Regions from separate parts of the Homo sapiens genome. Here region 2 is linked to region 1. The links are contacts of gene promoters, found by promoter capture Hi-C in human tissues and cell types (Jung and others, 2019). All regions are on one chromosome and are shown on one strand. Each heading gives the region's core, a stretch centred on a gene start or on the middle of the fragment in contact. The rest is flanking DNA. Distances are from core to core; before and after follow the strand shown.

What was found. Contacts are between HindIII fragments. The study calls those that stand out against the background at their distance.
Region 2: a fragment that was not itself captured here is called in contact with the fragment with the promoter of PTGDR in region 1 in 2 of the 25 tissues and cell types used here (bladder and mesenchymal stem cells).

What each region holds. Positions count from the first base shown.
Region 1 is chr14:52,266,141-52,269,806 of GRCh38, forward strand. PTGDR (prostaglandin D2 receptor) reads left to right here and starts at 1,558. Exons shown (of 2, transcript NM_000953.3): 1 at 1,558-2,520. The coding sequence starts at 1,675. The HindIII fragment of the contact is 10,952 bases long and covers 1-3,666 here.
Region 2 is chr14:52,228,691-52,232,642 of GRCh38, forward strand. No RefSeq gene overlaps it. Among named protein-coding and RNA genes, the nearest start is that of PTGDR, 37 kb to the right of the region's middle. The HindIII fragment of the contact is 3,210 bases long and covers 1-2,984 here.

The DNA.
Region 1 (3,666 bases), core at 308-2,807:
CCCACAAGTTCAGCATAAGTCTCATATTCCATTAGGTTGAACAACTAACCCAGGGTCACACAGCCAGTGGTGGAGTTCAGAACTATCTAATTCCAAGCTTAGATTCTTCTTTTCCACCCTGTGGCCTGAATTACTGGCCAGACTTTCAGTCTGGAGGCAGCCTCTCTGTCTACCCTTCAGGCTTTCACATCTAAATCCCAAGGGTCTTGCTCTTTCCCTGAGTCTGTCCATCAGAACTGGCATGAGGCCTAAAAATGAGCCGTTTCAAGCCCAGGCATCATCTACTCACTTACATAACAAAACCTTAGTCATCCCACTGAGATTCCACACTCAAAGCCAATTTCTCTCACAGGGCATCGAATGCTAGTTAAAGATATAAAATCACGCTTATCACAATTAACTCCCTTGCCTTTATGATGCAGCCAAGTCAAAGCCCAAACAGGAATAAATTTTTTCTAGTAGCCACAAATCAGAGGAGTGAGAAAGCTCTATGCCAAATCTACCATTTTCTGATTTCAAAATCCATGCTAAAAACTGCAGTTAAACATCAGCTACCAAAACACCCTTCTATCAAATAAGAATCATGGTGATTGCATGAATTGAGCACTTTCTATGTACTTGCTCTTTACGTGTTATTTCTATGCCTCAGAAGAGCCAAGCAGGCCAGATAGATGTTACTGCTTGAGAGGCTAAGCAAGTCCCATAAGGTCACACACACAGTGAGGAGCAGAACCTGGACTCAAACCCAGGCCTATCTGATGACAGCAACAGTGCTGCTAACCATGCCCTTCCCCCCAGCTCTCTACAGTCAATGTGATTCATGGCACCCAGGACCAACACCGGCTCTTGGCTTTCCCACAAACCACTTCCCTGAAATCTGGACAACTTCTTGGGAGGAGGAGTCATGGGAACAGGACAGATGAACTCCAAAATAGAAGATCGGGTGAGAGGTCCGGCTCTGCTACTTCTGTAGCTCTGTCACCACGGGCAGATCACTTAACTTTCCAAGGCCTCAGTTTCCTCGCCTATGCAATGGAGATGACCGTGAATGCCCCAAATTGCGCTGATCTAGTAGAGAAGAGGAGCTAAGGCTCAGGGGCTTTCCAGACGTGAGTTATCTTTACCTTTCCTTGACTAGCTAATTCAAGACAACTAGGTAGAAGCCCTTTCTCAGCCTCCCCTCTTCGCTCATCTTTCGAGTTCTTGGCCACCCCAGTTCAAACACCAGCACCATTGCCCTCCTCTCAGGTGGCTGCTGCTTAATTTCCCCTCCACTTTAGTAGTTCTTCTCTTGCCTCGCTAGAAGGACTGGTGTTGGGTGCTTGGAATTCTGGCTATTTTCCTCCTGCCGTTCCGACTCGGCACCAGAGTCTGTCTCTACTGAGAACGCAGCGCGTCAGGGCCGAGCTCTTCACTGGCCTGCTCCGCGCTCTTCAATGCCAGCGCCAGGCGCTCACCCTGCAGAGCGTCCCGCCTCTCAAAGAGGGGTGTGACCCGCGAGTTTAGATAGGAGGTTCCTGCCGTGGGGAACACCCCGCCGCCCTCGGAGCTTTTTCTGTGGCGCAGCTTCTCCGCCCGAGCCGCGCGCGGAGCTGCCGGGGGCTCCTTAGCACCCGGGCGCCGGGGCCCTCGCCCTTCCGCAGCCTTCACTCCAGCCCTCTGCTCCCGCACGCCATGAAGTCGCCGTTCTACCGCTGCCAGAACACCACCTCTGTGGAAAAAGGCAACTCGGCGGTGATGGGCGGGGTGCTCTTCAGCACCGGCCTCCTGGGCAACCTGCTGGCCCTGGGGCTGCTGGCGCGCTCGGGGCTGGGGTGGTGCTCGCGGCGTCCACTGCGCCCGCTGCCCTCGGTCTTCTACATGCTGGTGTGTGGCCTGACGGTCACCGACTTGCTGGGCAAGTGCCTCCTAAGCCCGGTGGTGCTGGCTGCCTACGCTCAGAACCGGAGTCTGCGGGTGCTTGCGCCCGCATTGGACAACTCGTTGTGCCAAGCCTTCGCCTTCTTCATGTCCTTCTTTGGGCTCTCCTCGACACTGCAACTCCTGGCCATGGCACTGGAGTGCTGGCTCTCCCTAGGGCACCCTTTCTTCTACCGACGGCACATCACCCTGCGCCTGGGCGCACTGGTGGCCCCGGTGGTGAGCGCCTTCTCCCTGGCTTTCTGCGCGCTACCTTTCATGGGCTTCGGGAAGTTCGTGCAGTACTGCCCCGGCACCTGGTGCTTTATCCAGATGGTCCACGAGGAGGGCTCGCTGTCGGTGCTGGGGTACTCTGTGCTCTACTCCAGCCTCATGGCGCTGCTGGTCCTCGCCACCGTGCTGTGCAACCTCGGCGCCATGCGCAACCTCTATGCGATGCACCGGCGGCTGCAGCGGCACCCGCGCTCCTGCACCAGGGACTGTGCCGAGCCGCGCGCGGACGGGAGGGAAGCGTCCCCTCAGCCCCTGGAGGAGCTGGATCACCTCCTGCTGCTGGCGCTGATGACCGTGCTCTTCACTATGTGTTCTCTGCCCGTAATTGTGAGTCCCCGGGCCCCGAGGCAGCAGGGCACTGAGACTGTCCGGCCGCGGATGCGGGGCGGGAAGGGTGGAGCGGATCGGGATGGACGCGGCGCCAGGCGAGCTGCGCCCTGGGCCAGGAAGGTTTGCTGCTGAGTTCCCCAAATTGGATTCCTTCCACAGCCCCGAGATATAACTCAGTTTGCGGAGCGAAATGAGGGAAAGTTAGAGAAAGGAAGGGAAAGGCTGAGCCCGGCGGTGTCTCCCTAGCCCAGCAAAACCCTCTCCATGTGGCAGAACTCCCTCCTCTCTGCTTCCTTCTGGGGAGATCTCGAGGTCATTTTTGCGCCTTAGGAGGAGCAGAACTTAGTTTCTCCTTGGCAACAGGAGTCTTCTACTTCCCGACGGCTGGGTGATGTTTTATTTTGTTAGACCTGCTCATGACTTCAGTGGTATCAGAAATGGGCGAATGGCGTCTGGGACGATCTTCTCCCCGGTGTTGGCATAGAAAGGGAAAAAGAGGTTTAAGCCAGCCAGAGTGATTTGCAGATGCATAGTTTTAATTTTGAAAAACGCGTGCGTAAACTTTGAGACGCCACGGCTGCTGTTTCTGGTGCTGCATCCGCCAGGGATTGTGGCGATGGAGGCCGAGGCTCTTTGTATGTTTTAGCTGCTGGTGTCGTTTTGACAACCTGACTTGACGGGTTTTGAGTGTATCTTGGCAAGTGAGGTGACATGAAAGCCATTATCTCCGGTTTCAATTTGGTAATGAGGATAGCGATGGAAATGAAATTATCTCCTCATTTTGAAGGCATTTGTTCCTGGAGTCCCCGCCAAGACACCTGGGAGTAGGTGAGGCTTGAGGAAACATTTTCAGTGCTGCTCCTCTCCTTTCTCCCAAGGTACCTGTTCAACAAAAACAATACTTACAGAAATTCCATTGCCAATCCCACGTTCTCGAAATCCTGAGACTTCTGTGAATAGGAAAGTTGTTAAATTTCTTCTCAGAATGTAGCCATTTTGGATATTACTTTCAATGGTGAATGAAAGGGAAATACAAAGCGATTTTCCTTTAAATGAAGGCCTTACTGCTTGCGGAAAAAGAAGTCTGGGGCATCAGCATGCAGGGGTGGGAACAGTATGCCCCCAAAATAAATAAACAAATAC
Region 2 (3,952 bases), core at 130-2,629, 38 kb before region 1:
TCAGGAAAACAAATGTTAGGAATTTATAAAACACATCCTTTAAAACAGCAGTCCCCAACCTTTTTGGCACCAGGGACCAGTTTCATGGAAGACAATTTTTCCACGGAAGGGGAGCATAGAGGGATGGTTTCAGGATGAAACTGTTTCACCTCAGACTCAGATAATCAGGCATTAGATTCTCATGAGGAGCACCCAACCTGGATCCCTCACATGCACAGTTCACAATAGGGGTCGCACTCCTATGAGAATCTAATGCTGCCACTGATCTGACAGGAGATGGGTCCACAGCCTGGGTGTTGGGGACCTCTGCTTTAAAAGCTTAAGTATTTAAATTTGTTATACTTATTTAATTTTGTGAATTTTGAATAATAAATTTGCATTCTCAATTAGGATTACTGATGAGAAAACAAAGTACCACCTGTGGCCTATCAAGGGCTTTGAATCTGAGTTGGATCAATCCTCTAAATCCAGCTGCCAGGGAAGGGAAATACCAGAGGACAGAGGAACAGGCTAAGCTTCACTGTGAGCATGCAGTTGCAAAAGCCAGACTGTGAGAAACTACATGTCAAAGGGCCTGGGTTCCTCAACAGATAAATTGTCAGGAAAAGAAAGGGACAGAGGGGAAATCTGTGGATTATGAGTTTAAAAGAAATAAACTTCAAAAATTAGCAAGTCTAAGTTACAGTAGCTAGGGATTCTGGTATGTGGGAAGCAATATAGGCAATGGAAAGCAAGATATTCCTTGCAAGTAGACACATAATTTCTGCTAACATTCTATTGACCAAAACCAGGTCACATGGCCACATCTGTCCAGCTCCAGCTGAGGCCTGTGAATATCTCTAGCTAGGTAGCCATGTGCCTTGCTAAAATGTGGAGGTTTGATTATCAAAAGAAGAGACAGTAGATAATGGTGAATACTTATTAGTCTCTGCCACTCCCTTAAAAATGGAATACACAAACTCGCACTGTGATTTCTAACTTACACTGTACAGCTTCTCTGAATTATTCTGGAACTTAAATTTGTGCTTGTCTTTACTTGTTATTCAGAAAGTATCTAGAGCCTCTCTTGATTTTCTTTATTTTCTCCCTGACAGCATCAGGAAAGTCAGAATCTCAATCAAGCCAGGGTCTAAACAGAAACTAAGACTCAAGGAAGTAGTTTGCATTGAGAGGAGAAAGGAGATATGCATAGATAGGAGACACCAGAAAGGGAAGGAGAAGGAAGGAGAAGGTTGTGCTCTGAGGACTTTCCATTCCCATGAGGCCTGGGGTGCTTCCTGCTTTGCATTCTGTGCATATCCCTTAAACTCCTTTTTTACTTAAGCATCCTCAGGTGGATTTCTGTGTCTTGCAAACAATCTTCAGGAAGTATATAGCAACCTGTTCTAACATACTTGATCCCAAGTAGAAACAGTTTTATTTCCAGCAGGATTACAGGAACATTGCCTTATTTTGTATAACAGTCTCCCCCAGGTACCCCACTTTATAATGAAAGCGAATTGGCTTAGGTTTGGATTATATCAAATAGGGCATTTTATGACTAAGTAAAAAATCTTTTCATTGTGCTATTTATAGTTACTATGGTTAAACTTCCTTTGCTGTACAGCACTTTACTTTTCTTGGAGTTAATTGCCTGTTTTTTTTCATTTTCTTTTTTTTTTATATGTACCCATTAATTCAATGATCATTAAACCCTTCAGCAGGACTCAACTGTGAATCCTTTCTTTGCCTCTTGAGACATTTTTCCCTGCAACTTTTGTCATCTTGCTCCTTTCAGGCATAGTTGCCCTAGAGGATTTCTGGGTGTTCTTCCTCCATCATTCTGGGAATTCCATTACTGTTTTCTTGTGCCAGATCACCTCTTTCTTGTATCCTATGCCTTCTTTTTGCTTTTCAACCCCTTGTGTTTTTGAGACACATCCTCTACTACCTTCTTGTAAAGGGTGCATGGCAGGTAAAGTCTTTGAAAAATTGGATGTCTAAGACATTTTATTCTGCACACCTTCTTGATCAATAGTTTGGGCAGTATTTCCCTGAATGCTGAAGTCATTTCTTCATTTGCACCTAATTTTCAGTGTTGAAGTCAAGAAGTCAAAATCTGATACAATAAAGTTAACCCTTATAATTAGCGATCTAAAATTTCATAATGATGTGCTCTGGTGTGGTCTTTTTTTAGCCGTGTTGCTGAGTACTCAGTGGGCTCTTAAATTTGAAACCTTCTATCCTAAAGTTCTGCAGAATTGTCTTGTATTCTTTCCCTGACAGTTTTTTCCACTCCATTTTTTCTGTTCTCTATTACTTTTGTGCCTATTAGACTAATGTTAGGCCTGCTGGATTGATCTTTAATTTGTTCTTTTCTCTCCTATTGTCCATCAAGTCTTCTTGCTCCACTTCCCATTTAAAGTTGATGGTATCCTCTTTCTTGCTATTTCTGAACACCCCTCTTTATATAACATCTTGATTATTTTATTATAGATAGCATTGCTCTTCTAATCTAAAGTGTTCTTCTGTTGCATTGTCTCTGCTTTCTCTGGGAGGTTTCTTCTTGATTATTTTGTTCTCTATCTTAAATGTTGAAAGATTTTCTCAAATATCTGGATGTCCCATGGATGACCGGTTATATTTAAGAGTGAGGCATTGAAAAAAAGAGAGATTGGAATCTCTATATGCTTGGGCAGAGATTGTCTAAAGGAGAGGGGCTGCTTCCCTGGAGGGTGACATGGGGGAATGCTGCTTTTATTTCAGAGGATCAACATGTGTCAGTGTTTATAGGTCTTTTCTCTTGAACCTATGCAAGATGAGATTTTGTGTTGTATTTTAGACATGAATATTTTATAAACTCCATCTCATATTTCACCTATACAACTACAAGGAGGAAATATCTGGGAAATTTACATGGTAAACATTGAAAACTTTTTAACAAGTATGGTGATAATTAGTGGCTTAATTATAACAAAACAAGACAGAAAATTCAATTTCCCATGATGAATAAAGTTTATAACACAAGTGAACACACAGCTGTCTCTACCAAATAGAATTTTCTGCAGTATACAAAGTCTCAAGATTATAAATTACAATTGTTATATTTAGATGTTACTTGTCTGGAGATTCTCTGCCCTTAGTAAGCAAATATTTAAGAGTAAGTATAATTATATTTTCAAGGGTCAGAGCATGTGTAAACAGAAAGCCAAACTTACAGAGAACTTCACCCGTTTGGCTTAGAATTTTTAACCATTGTGTCCTTGATATAATAAAATGTAAGAATCCTTTAATTATTCATGTCTCATTAACACGAGGCATATAACTCATTCCTGATTCTAAAGTACTTGTTTCAACCAAGTTCTTATTTCTCTGTTGTTGTGTTTTTTTTTTTTTTTTTAGAGACGGAGTCTCTCTCTGTCACCCAGGCTGGAGTGCAGTGGCGCGATCTCAGCTCACTGCAACCTCCACCTCCCGGGTTCAAGCAATACTCCTGCCTCAGCCTCCCAAGTAGCTGGGACGACTGGCATACACCACTACGCCCGGCTAATTTTTTGTATTTTAGTAGAGATGGGGTTTTACCGTGTTTCCCAGGCTGGTCTTGAACTCCTGAGCTCAGGCAATCCGCCCGCCTAGGCCTCCCAAATTGCTGGGATTATAGGTGTGAGCCACTGCGCCCAGTCATCTATGTTTCTTTTTACATACATGTATGCCTTGTGATCTACTCATTTCCTTTCATTTTATTCTAGGCGAAATTATTTTCAAGTTAATATATTTTTACAGGCCAGTCATTTTCTCATGGCTGGTGGGATTATGGGAAAGTGGGGTCTCGAGGTGACAAATCTGGCAGCCAACTTTTTTTGTAGCCAAGAAGAGGAGACTAGGAAGGAATCTCGCAATTCAATATACAGTCTTTCACTTCATCCGCCTGATCTCATATGGTACCTCACTCCCACTTGCTTGTTTAATTTAT